3 separate regions of the Homo sapiens genome follow, and regions 2 and 3 are each linked to region 1. Evidence: promoter capture Hi-C in human tissues and cell types (Jung and others, 2019). All regions are on one chromosome and are shown on one strand. Each heading gives the region's core, a stretch centred on a gene start or on the middle of the fragment in contact. The rest is flanking DNA. Distances are from core to core; before and after follow the strand shown.

The links. Contacts are between HindIII fragments. The study calls those that stand out against the background at their distance.
Region 2: a fragment that was not itself captured here is called in contact with the fragment with the promoter of AJAP1 in region 1 in 2 of the 25 tissues and cell types used here (dorsolateral prefrontal cortex and mesendoderm cells).
Region 3: a contact is called between a fragment that was not itself captured here and the fragment with the promoter of AJAP1 in region 1, in 1 of the 25 tissues and cell types used here (dorsolateral prefrontal cortex).

What each region holds. Positions count from the first base shown.
Region 1 is chr1:4,652,733-4,656,845 of GRCh38, forward strand. It overlaps AJAP1 (adherens junctions associated protein 1), which reads left to right and starts at 1,877. Exons shown (of 6, transcript NM_018836.4): 1 at 1,877-2,722. The coding sequence starts at 2,694. The HindIII fragment of the contact is 14,001 bases long and covers 1-4,113 here.
Region 2 is chr1:5,149,006-5,153,118 of GRCh38, forward strand. No RefSeq gene overlaps it. Among named protein-coding and RNA genes, the nearest start is that of LINC02782, 53 kb to the left of the region's middle. The HindIII fragment of the contact is 3,193 bases long and covers 850-4,042 here.
Region 3 is chr1:4,167,381-4,171,493 of GRCh38, forward strand. No RefSeq gene overlaps it. Among named protein-coding and RNA genes, the nearest start is that of LINC02780, 190 kb to the left of the region's middle. The HindIII fragment of the contact is 3,094 bases long and covers 190-3,283 here.

The sequences.
Region 1 (4,113 bases), core at 627-3,126:
CACCGCCTCCTCACACCGCTAGGTGGCAGCACTGCCGGCGCCTCCTTCCCCGCCGGCCGCCATAGGCCCCGCTGGTTCCAGGACCTCCCTGCCTCCTTCGCCTCTTAATGGGATCCGCTCCCTCACACCCCTCAGGGAGAGGCTCTAGGGGACGATGACCCAGGGGCGGCCCGGCAGGGAAACTGCTGAGTCACCCTGCTGCCTCTCGGGTCCTCTGACCGGCTCACAGATCACCATAGCCACAGTGTGTGTAAGGCCTTCTCATGGAGCCCTGCAAACACCTCCCCGGGGAGGGGCTGTGGGACCCATCTTACAGATGAGGAGACCGAGGGTCGGAGAGGCCACACAACTCGGCCAGGACCCCGAGTTAGCAAGCGCTGGCCCCTGGTCCAGCCACGGCAAGGCTGGCCCTCCTGCCACCACACTTCCCTGCCTCTGGCCCTCTGCCGGGAGTCTTGGTGGGGAAGTCACTGTCTTCATCCTCCTGCCCGGGCAGAGTCCAATCCTGTGCCTGGCTCCTCAAGACCGTTGGCAAAGATCCTGGAGGCCTGGGGGTGAAAGGGCTGCTTGGGGGACTTAAGCCCCAAGCTATGGTTCGCCTGGGAGACTGAGCCCCAAGCCATGGTCCTCCTGGCTCTGCCCTTCCACCCCCTCACTGGCTGCCCCTCCCAGGGAGGCCTCACCTGTGAAGTGCTTCCCGCCCCTCTCACCCCCCACGGCTCTCACATGGCCTGGGGCGATTCCAGAGCTGGCCTGGGTCAAGCACCTGCACAGAGCACAGAGCGAAGGCTCGGCATGGTATATCCCCCGCCCCTTGCACCTTTCCCCAGTGAAGGGTGGCACCAGTGTCCTTTCCAAGGCCCGGATTCTGCACTGCCCTCAGCCTGTGGAGGATTAAAAGCAGGGTTTTGCCGTGGTTTCTCAAGGCGTCAGCGGGTCTGCAGAGGATTCCGCCCCATGTCACTTCTCTCAGTGAAAGGTCCCCGCCCAGCGTCTGTCCTCCTTTAAGTGCCCCCCATTTGTTTTTTGTTGTTGTTTTTGTTTGTTTTTTGCAAATACAGACTAACCAGGTAGGCACAGAGGAGTCCTGGCATGGGAAGGGAGCAGTGAAACGCCGGTGGAGAGTCCGGGAGGCCCAGATTCCCTGGAACTTTCCAGTGACTCCTCCGGAGCAAGGGCCTGGCCAGGCAGCAGCTGCGCTGGGCGATGAGGGACCGTTGGGTAATTGGGGGCATAGGACCGGGCTTCGCTGGGTTCGGGGCAGAAGCGCCGAAGCTCCGACCCGGAACGCGGTGACTTCATCAACGCAGAAGCCCGCGCAGCCGAGCAGAGGAGTCCCTCGTAGGCGACCCTCGGACAGACGCTCCTGCGCGGCCCGCGTGGCTCAGCTCCGCCCCAGGAAACTTTTCGCGCAGCCCCCGCTCCATGCGCCCCCACCCAGTCCTTCTTCGGGGCCGCCCCCTCCCCAAAGTAGCTCTCCGGGTCCACTGGGCGCCCCCGTAACCGGGTCGGAACCTCGAACGGCTTCGCGTGCCATCCGGTTACCCTGGCAACACCATCCGGCGGCGCCCGGCGGTCCAATCCTAGCCTGCGGCCTCTCTCGAGCCTTTCGCAAGGTGGGGACCGGGACGCGACCGGGGATGGGGAAGGGGGCTGCAGGAGGCCCCGCCTGCGCTGTCGCCCCTGCTGGGCACAGCGCCCCCCACCACCCGCGGCGACCCCGGCCCCCGCAAGGTGGGGCGGCGAGCAGGAGCCGGGGCCAGGCCAGGGGCTCGAGCTCCCGTTCGAGGGGCGGGGAAGGCGGGTGACGTGAGCCGGGCCGGGCGGGCGGAGTTGGGACCGGCTCCGGGAGGCGGGGGCGAGCGCGCGGAGAGGCAGACGCGAGGAGGGAGGCGGCTGAGCAGCGCGGGCGGCTCTGCGGCGGGCGCGGTGGGCGCGGGCGGCGGGGCCCCGGGATCCCCGCGCGCCTCCTCCGCGCGGCGCCGCCGCCGCGCGTCCCCACGCCCCGCGCTCCACGGCGCCCTCGCCCCGCGCGCCTCTCGTGCCCGCCTCCTGCCAGTCTCCGGGCCGCGGCCGTCTGCAGAGCGAGCGCTCAGACGGAGCCCCCGGGCAACTTGAGTGGCGCCGATCGGCGGCGGAGCCTCTGGCAGAGCCCCCCGACCCGGCAGCGCGGAGGGGACTCGCGTCCGTCCGCGTCGCGTCACCCCAAACCCTAAGCAGCGCCGCCCCATCGGCGCGGAGCTCCGGCTGGAGGCAAGAGCCGCGCGCCGGGAGACACGCACCGTGAGCGGCAGCGCCGCCGGCCTCCCTCCTCGCCGCCCCGGAGGGCGAAGCCGCGGCTCCCCAGCCCTTTGCTGCGCCGCGACAGCGCCGGAACACGCCCCGCCTCGCTGCCGCCTTCGCTGTGCCGCCGGCGGAGGGGGCCGCGAGCCCCGCGCCCCGGCCGGAGGATGTGCGCCCCCGCGGGCCGCCCAGCCTGAGCCATGCGCCCCAACGGCGGCGGCGCGCCGGCCGGCATGGAGCCCCGCGCGGCCGCGCTCTGACTCGCTGTGCGCCCCGCGGCCGGCGGGCGGCGGGAGGCGGCGGACCGAGAGCCGGAGACCGGCGCCGCGGGACGGAAGCGAGCGGGCGCGGGCGCCGCGCAGATGGCCTGGGCGAGCCAGGTCTGAGGCCCCGCTCCCCGAAACGTGACCATGTGGATTCAACAGCTTTTAGGACTCAGGTGAGCGACCCGGCCGGCGCCGGGTGCGTGTGGGCGCGTGGGTGCCAGGCTGGGCGGAAGCGGCGCTTTCCTCTATGTTGCAAATCAAGGGACCCCTCTTCGCTTCCCGCAAGCGGGCAACGGGGTGCACCGGTAGCCGGAAAGGGGCGCCCGCCCGGAGCCTGGAGCAGCACCGCGGCCCTGGCGGGGAGCGGCCGGGTCTCCAGGGTTCCGCGCGTCCGGGGTCGGGGCAGCGGCGCCCGCCCCAGCAACCCGGGAAGTGGGGCCGGCCAGGCGCGCCCGCAGCTCTAGGAGCCAGCAGCGCAGTGTCCTGGCCGGCTGCCCCGGCGCGCCTCCTCCCCGGGGCCCGGGGCGAGGCGCCGGCCGCTGGGCGCGGCGGGCGCGGGGGCCGGGGCTGCCGGGGAAAGCTAAAGCTCCGGGCTCCCAGCGAGAGCTTCGCAGGCGGAGTTGGAGGAAACCACAGCCAAACAGCCACTCCGCTCCCCCTTCTCCTTTCTCGGGGCCCCGGGGCTGAGCAGGGGCCTCCCAGGCTCCCAGCTGCCGACCCAGCTGTTTGCGGGTGACCTCCGGGCCCGACGGGCGCTCACAGCTGGCGGGCAGCTGGGGCGGGAGAGCTGGGGTTCTTGGGGAGCTCCGGCGGCCACCCCGCTGTAAACACACACGCACATACGCCCGCCGGCGCGCCCGGGGCTTGTCTGTGTCTGGGACTCCAGGGCCAGATGGAAGAGGGGGTTCGAGCCTAGAGCCCGTGGTGGGGGTGTCCAGAAAGACCCTTCTCGGCAAACTTTGCCAGCCCGCCGGGGTTCTCGGGCTTCTCTGGCTTCTGCCTGGGGTGGCCCAGGGCCCACCAGAGCACAGCTGTCGTTTTTGCTGGGCAGGCTGCCTCTGAGCCCTCGCCCTCCTGCCGGGGCATTCACCGAGCTCGTGCATTTGGGTCCCGGGTTGGAACCGCGAGCGGGGAGGACAGAGGTGGAGGCGGAGAGCAGCGTGCGGTTCTCGAGTTTGTCCACTGGGATGCACTGCGCTCCCGCGTTGGGGACGAAAAGGCCAGTAGTTGTTAGCCCGCTGCTTGAGCCGCCCCCACTCAGGGATGAAGCTGCGGGGGGAGTGAGGCGAAGGGAGGGAGGATCTAGTGCGTGTCCTGATTTTGAGAAATCGGAAGGGGACTGGGACGCCAAGTGTTTTCTAGCGACCCTTGATTTATGAGCCGATTCTGCTCCCAGAGGTGAATACTGTGTAACACATCTAGTGAACATTGTCAGATGTTATTATTAGCATCCCTTCTCTCAGTGGCCGATCTTGCTGTGGGCTTCAAAGGTTAATCATGGAGCCGATTGTGTTGGGTGTGGGATATTGGTCGGGCGTGAATCGATAAGTGTGCTTGGGCTAGA
Region 2 (4,113 bases), core at 1,196-3,695, 500 kb after region 1:
ATATGGGATCCTAGAGTTGAAAAAGGATATTAGTGGACAAATCAGGGCTACTGGGCTACTAGCGGAGCTGCTAGTAGTTAATTTCTTGGTTTAGGTTTTTGTACTATGGTTATGTAAGATTACATAAGGATTAAGATTACGTTAGGAGTAGGTATCTGGTGAAAGGTGTATGAGAATGCGTCTTACTAACTTTGCAGCTTTTGTGTAAGTCTAAAATCATTTAAAAATAAACATTTAAAAGAAATGTATAGTCCATATATTCAGAAAGGTTGGAAAGCAAGAGAATATACCATTGTCATAAAAACATGCCAGGATGCAAGAACAAGTGAATGCTTCATTCTAAAGCTCCTTTGGTAAGATGTGTGCAAGTCTGTGGACTAGAAAGTTATGCCAGCCACTTGACTTTACTTGAATGCCATGGTTTCTTTATACAATCAAGTGACTGGTGCACATGATACCAATAAACTTCTGTCCTTGCATTGGAAGAGTTAGCAAACAAGAGGTGCAGCCCACTAGTGCCTGAATTAGGTCATAATGGCACACCACGGCACCAGTTGTACAATGGTTGGCCCATAGCAGATGCTCAATAATTCTTATTAGTTAGTCTCCTGCAGGTCAAGTCACACCCAAGGAACATACTATCCATGTGATTGCTAGAAGCCCAATTCAGAAGGATAAACCTACAATTTAATGAGGATTTCACGTTGACCTTGAAACACTGGCAGTATAAAGGAAGGTCTGAGTAGTTTTACAGGATCACAAAGATGAAGGGGGATACCAGAGTCAAGACCTATGACTGGGAGCCCAGAGGGGAGGTGAAATCATCTGCTCAAGTTTGAGACCTATTGAAAAAAGCACTATTATTTTCAAAGGGCACATTTCACGAAAGTTTGATACATCTAGGTGGGTTTGAAATGGGACTATGGATCCAAAGAGTCACAAGTAGCCCAGGGATGGCCATCACTGTTTCTCATCCCCCAAGAGATTAGGGGTTTTTTGTTTTCTCTTGCTTCTTCATTTTATGTAAAATTAAATAAGTCCTTTCTCTTTGAGCTCTGCAGTCTGATGCTTCTAGAAGTCCTTTCTCAGTCTTGCTGGCTCATGAGAACAGCTAGGAGGGGCCCCATTGAGAGACTGCAGTCTCCAAGGGAGGCTGGACAGAGAGAAGGGCCTTTCTGGGCCTGGCCTCACCATGTCCTTGCTGTGCAGCCTGATCAAGTGACTCCTCATTCTGTGTCAGTTCCTTCATTCCAACATGGATAAGAACACTCTGCAGTACCTAGTTATTGGAAGGGATAAATGTAATGACATGGCCAAGCAGCTTGCAGCACACAGGGCTGCTTTGTAAATGCTGGCGGCCATCATTACTCTTTGTGATCCTGGTTCAGCCAGAGGGAATTTGGCTGAGGCTACTGGACATGTGTTTCTGCAAAAGACAAGGTCCCGCCAAACAGCCAGTTCCTGCAGAGGCCCCTGAGCAGGAGAAAACCAAACCCCAAAACCACACAGCAGTCTTTCTTTCCTGCACCAAGGGAGCAAGAAGACCATGAGAGGACCTGAAAGGCCAAAGATACCAAGGGAAACTAAAGAGGTAGGGGTTGGGAGGAGACAATCCTGCAGAAACAGGAAGAAATTGCTTTACTCAATAAGCCAGAGATGCCGGCATGGCTCCGCTCAGAGCAGGTGCCTGTCCAGGCCCCCAGCTACCTCCTTCATTTCTGTTGCCCACTCACCACTCTCCTCATCCTCTCTCTGAGCACCCTCAATATTTATACTGTAAATGTGGAGGACATCAGTATTGTTTGAAATGTACAAGCCTCTTTCTCAAAATAATCTCAGGAGGTTTGAACTAGTAGGAAAGACATAAAAATAAGACAACTTGGAACAAAGATGTGGAAAAGTACTTTGAAATTGCCTAGGAATGCCTCTCAAAAGTCATTTCAGCACACATTAGGTACCCACGCTCTGCAAGCATTGCCATGATTCAGGATATCTGAGTGCTCCTTACATTCATGGCTAATGTTAACTGAGCTTTCACTATGTGTCCAGCATAGGACTGTGTGCCCTCTACACATCACTTGCTGAGTTCCTACAAGAGCCACAAGAGACAGGCATGATTGTTATTCTCATTTTGCAGAGGTGAACATGCAGGCTTAGTAGGGTTAAGTAATTTGCTCAAGGTCGCATAGCTCAGTAATGGCAGAACTGGGGCTCAAACCAGACAATGAGTTCAAGCCCAAGCCTGCAAATTCGGTGCTGTCCCATGGGTCTACTTAAGCAGAAAGTCTTTTTCCTTTCTGGATGTGCATCCCTTGGCATCTACCTCCTGCACTCGGGAGATACTCAATAGACATTCTTGGACTCAGTGAGGCCAGATGGGCTCTGAGCCCGAGGACTCTCATTGCTATGATGCCATCACCCACATCATGAGCTTTGCCTTTGCTGGGGTCCTGTGCTGGGAGATTCTGGAGGGGATGGCGGAGCCTGAACTGGGACCCCTCCTATTACAGATGCACTCTTAGAAACGTACCTCACACCGAGTCTGCAGGCTCACATCTCTGACAAAGTTGAGAACTTAAATTCTCATTAGGCAGAAGAGTCTGTTCCATGCTTATTTCATCTGGGTAAGAACGGCTGGAGTGAGCGCAATCAGGCGGAATCTGCTTGAGAGTCTTCAGAGGCGCTCGCTGGGGAGGCAGCTGCAGCCAGGATGGCTTCCTGCATTTCAGTTCTCTTCTTCAAGACCATCTGTTTTCCCACAAAGGCATGTTTCCTTACATCATTCTTTATATACCTCGTCTCCATCTCACACACACACACACTCACACATGCTCACACACACACAAACGCAGTGCTCTCCCAATGCAAAATCTATATGTGTAATCAACATTTTCATGAGACAAGTTCATAGAATAGAATCTGAGCTGAGAATCTCAACTTAGTCTGAAGAAATATTTAGATCCTGGGTAGCCTGAGCGTATGCAGGTGTGTGTGTGTACGTGTGTGCGCATACACACACACACACATCCTCCCACCCCTACCACATTCCTACATCTTTGCACAGAGTAATGAAGAGGATTTATTTGCTCTATTTATTGGGCCTGATAATCCCTTTCTAAAGAGAAGGATGAGGTGGTGCTGCTGCATCCCTTTCAGCCAGAAGGCAAAGCTTCAAGGACATTCCTGTCACCTCAAGTGCAATATCACTTAAACAAGCCCAAACCTACCAGCTAGGGGCTTCTTCTCACACACATTGGCATCCGCATTTCTGCTGTTGCCCATACACTGATGGAAAGCCCAGGTATCCTTGTGGAGTTCTGCCTTCTGGCCAACCCATAACTCAAGCCCAAGCTTCATCCTTCATGTTCCCACTGTCTACACCTTCTCTTAGGTCTCTCTTCCCATCCCCAGCCCTGTAATTCAAGTTTTCCTGGCTTAGGACCATCCCCTGTGTTATGGTTTGGCTCTGTGTTCCCACCCAAATATCACCTTGAATTGTAATAATCCCCATGTGTCAAGTGCGGGACCAGGTAGAGATAACCGAATCATGGAGGCAGTTCCCCCAGGCTCTTCTCATGACAGTGAGTGAGTTCTCCCAAGATCTGATGATTTTATAAGGGGCTTTCCCCTCCTTCACTCTGCACTTCTCTCTCCTGCCACCATGTTGGACCTGTTTGCTTCTCTTCTGCCATGATTATAAGTTTCCTAAGGCCTCTACAGCCATGTGGAACTGTGTGTCAATTGAGCCTGTTTCCTTTATAAATTACGCAGTCTTAGGCAGTTCTTTATAGCAGCATGAGAATAGACTAATACAGTAAATTGTTACCACAGAGAGTGGGATGCTGCTATAAAGATATTTGAAAATGTGGAAGTGACTTTGGCACTGGGTAACAGGCAGAGGTTGGAACAGTTTGGAGGGCTCAGAAGAAGACAGGAAAATGGGGAAAGTTTGGAACTTCCTAGACACTGTTGAATGCCTTTGACCAAAATGCTGACAGTGATTTGGACAATAAAGTCCAGGCCGAGGTTGTCTCAGATGGAGATGAGGACTTGTTGGGAACTGGAATAAAGGTGATTCTTGCTATGCTTTAGCAAAGAGACTGGCAGAATTTT
Region 3 (4,113 bases), core at 487-2,986, 490 kb before region 1:
TGGCTGTGTGGATGTGAGCACGTCGCGTTCTGGAACCTCATTGTCTCACCCTTGTCAAACCATGGGCAGTGCCATTTACTGTGCAGGCTTCAGAGGATTAACTGAGGCAGTAACTGTCACATGAATGTTAGCTGTTGTTATTCTTCTTATTATGATGTTTTTATAAATACACAATTACCCAAAGGCTCTGTGAGCTCATTTTCGGTCCTAAGAAAATCTGACATCAAAGAGCCTGCTAGTGGCAGATGCCAGGAGACATGGCAGACGACAGCCTGCCACTGCAGAAGAAAACAAAACGGCTTCACGGCAGCTCCCAACGGTGCTCTCTGTAACCACACAAGTGCATGTGCACAAAGTTCTTTACTCATCTAAGAAGAAGTCAATTACTTTCCAGGATTAGGGAGGCATGGAAGCGGACCATCTATATGAGAATGGTTTCCATCCACATGGGTCAGATACAGTCTGGCGACTGGAGGGCACGGTGGGTGATTCTCTCACGTGGCAGGTGCACGCCCGTTGCCTTTGCAATGGGCTTCTGCATGTGTACTTTAACCTACTAGCTCTGTGACCCTGGGCAACATGCTTAACCTCTTTGAGCCTGTATTAGTCAGGGTTCTCTGGAAGGACAGGACTAATAGGATAGACGTATATGTGAAGGGGAGTTTATTAGGAGAATTGACTCACACGATCACGAGGTGAAGTCCCACAATAGGCCATCTGCAAGCTGAGGAGCCAGGAAACCAGTCTGAGTCCCAAAACCTTGAAAGTAGGGAAGCCCAGGAGCCCCTGGCAAACCACTGGTATAAGTCCAAGAGTCCAAAAGCTGAAGAACTTGGAGTTCAGTATTCGAGGACAGGAAGCATCCAGCACAAGAGAAAGAGGGAGGCCAGAAAACTCAGCCAGTCTATTCCTTCCACATTCTTCTGCCTGCTTTTATTCTAGCTTCGCTGGCAGGTGATTAGATGGTGCCAACCCAGACTGAGGGTGGGTCAGCCTCTGCCAGTCCACTGACTCAAATGTTAAGCTCCTTTGGCGATACCCTCACAGACACACCCAGGAACAATACTTTGCATCCTTCAAATCAATCAAGTAGACACTCAATATTAGTCATCAGAGTCTGTTTCTTCAACAGCAATATTGAGATGATAATAGCCCTCTATGACTTTCTTAGGTTGTCATAGTCAAGTACCACAAGCTGGATGGCTTAAAAATCACAGGAATTTATTATCTCACCTGCCCAGGAGGCCAGAACTCAGAAATCAAGGTGTGGGCAGGGCCATGCTCACTAAGAAGCCTCTGGGGGAGGGTCCTTCCTTGCTTCTTCCAGATTCTGGTGGCTCCTGGAATCCCTCGGCTTGTGGTAGCATCACTCCAATTACTGGCTCTGTGGTCACATGGCCAACTCCCCCTTGTGTGTCTGTCTCCTCTTCTTAGAAGGACACTAGTCATATTGGATAAGAACCTACCTGAAGACCTTCTCCTAACTCAGTTGCATCTGCAAAGACCCTAGCTCCAAATCAGGTCACACTGAAAGGTATGGGGGGGTTAGGGCTTTAACATACCTTTCTGGAGGGACACAATTCAACTTGTAACAGGTCTCCACCTCCTGGGGCTGCTGGGATGATTGGTCAGGTGGCGTGTGCTAAGCATATGTGGCCCCTGTTAGGTTCCTAGGTGGTCATAATTAAGTATCTTGAGCTGGGCAGCTTAAAAATCACAGGAATGTATTCTCTCATACATATTCTCTCATACACTGTTCATATGTGGCCATAGGAACTGCTCAACACATTTCAGCCATTGAAGCAATTATTCATTCTTCTTACCTGTCTACATTGTCAAGGAAGTTCTGCAGATACAGAAAATGAAGAAGACTTTGCCAAGACGAAGAATGGGGAAATGCTGCTGAACAGTGGGTCACCTGAGCTCTTTGCAGTCCAACACCAACCATTCCATGCTTCTTCTGCACACAGAACCAGATCCGTGCCTTCTTTATGATTCCTGCTAGTGTCACATGAACTCCACCCAAAATCAGAGAAGCAAGACCCCTACATCGCTTATACCCTGCTCACTTAACACAATGATTGAATCACCAGCTATATGAGTGCAGTGTTACGTGGAGAAAAATACATAATTACTTAGACACAGTCGTTGTCTTCAAGGAGCACAGGTCTGTCTACCTCCCACAAGACATATGGCCGTGTGAGGAGAGCCTGCTAGAGAGAGAAGCAGGTTCTGCAGATCTCAGAGGGGTCACGTCTGCCCAGCTGGAGGCTGGGTCCCATGAAGAAGGCAAAAGAAATACACACCATCCTTAAGGAGCTTTGACTCATTCATTCCACATTTATTTATTTTCATTTATTTCTTTTTTGAGATAGAGTCTTACTCTGTCACCCAGGCTGGAGTGCAGTGGCATGATTTTGACTCACTGCAACCTCTGCCTCCCGGGTTCAAGTGATTCTCCTGCCTCAGCCTCCTGAGTAGCTGGGATTACAGGTGTGTACCACCATGCCTGGCTAATTTTTGTATTTTTTAGTAGAAATGGGATTTCACCATGTTGGCTAGGTGGGTCTTGAACTCCTGACCTCAAGTGATCCACCCACCTCGGCCTCCCGAAGTGCTGGGATTATAGGCATGAACCACCGCACCAGGCCCCTTCCATATTTATGAAGCCACCACTTAGGCCAGTCCCGGGGCATACAGTGACAAATCTTGAACTAACAGGAGCGATGAGAACAGGGGGAGATGAAACAGCAGAGAGCTCGATGCAGGCACTGGAAGAGACTGGTGCTCCCAGCTGAGCTGGGCCAGGTCAGGGCCAGGGGAGGCCATGCTCTCTCTCTTGGTCTGGAAGCCCATGCCCCGGCCCTTCTCCCCAACAGTGGCCCCTCTTCTGGCCAACAGGTGCCAGCAGGCAGTGTGACCCTGTTTTTGTCTCACCTTCAGGTTTGCCCAGAAACATCCCCAGGCTTCCAAGCTTGCTTCACTAAGTTAAACATCTTTATTCTGCCTCCTTTTGCAGCCATTCATTTTAATCATGCAAAGGTCAGCTGTCACCGCACAAATGTTAGACTTAATTTGTTTTCTTGATGCACGTGGTATCCGTGATAATGTGGCCCAATTTTTCGTCATTTGCCAACGGGGAGCTGCAGTGGGTAGGGGTGACTCACAGACAGCTGAGGGTGAGACCGAGGAAGGCTGTCTGGAAACCTGTACAGGAGAAGGGTTTGATTTGGGGCAGGATGTGCTAATGGCATCGAGTCCCAGGAACATGACTTTAGTCCTAAGAGTCCGTGGCTTGAGAGCAGGAGCTCCTGAGAATCGCTCGGTTATTCCACGCATCGGTTGTCCCTCAGGTAAGTGGTGAATGATGCCTCAGCAGCCTTCGCTTCTACTCCTAGAGCAGAGCTTTGCATTTCGACGGCCGTTCTTTCACCATTTCAGAGACGAGAGCTGCTCAAGGAGGCCAATCCTGCCTCCTTGTCCCTTCCTGGCCCCCTCTTCTTCTCACCCTTCTCCTGTCTCTTCTATCTCTTGGTCTGCTGGAAGTTTCCAAGTTGCAGACTGAAGTGGAGGCCTTGAGGTCTCTCAGCAAGCTTTTCTACTTACCACGCATTTTTCTGCTGTGGGAAGATCCCCAGAGAGAGATGTTGGAAGCACAGCCCAGCATTGCTGTGGAAACAGAGCTCACCCGTCTGCGCCCCAGCAGAATTGCATCATTTACTGTCTGTGCGGCAGCCCACAAGGAGAAATAGACTCAGAATGACAATCCGACACTCCCACGGGCTGCGTGCCACTTTGCGGTACACCACACACCAGCACGGAGAGGGGTTTGGTGCAGGGGGGACAGGGTGGCGTGGAGAGTGCTTCTCCTCATTAGCAGATGCCGCTATGTCTTTCTATGCAGCCCCCACTGGACGTCCTGCAGCTCCTTAAACTCAACGTGTGTGGAATGTAGCTCATCCTCTTGTTGAACCCACCTCCCGGGCTGACCTGTCACCATTGCCCGTGTCGGCCCTCAGCCACACGCTCATCTGTGTTCTCTTCTCTGTGTCCCCATCAGCTCCATCTCCAGGGCCTTCCCAACGCCTTCCGGTCCACGTGCTTTTCTCTGAC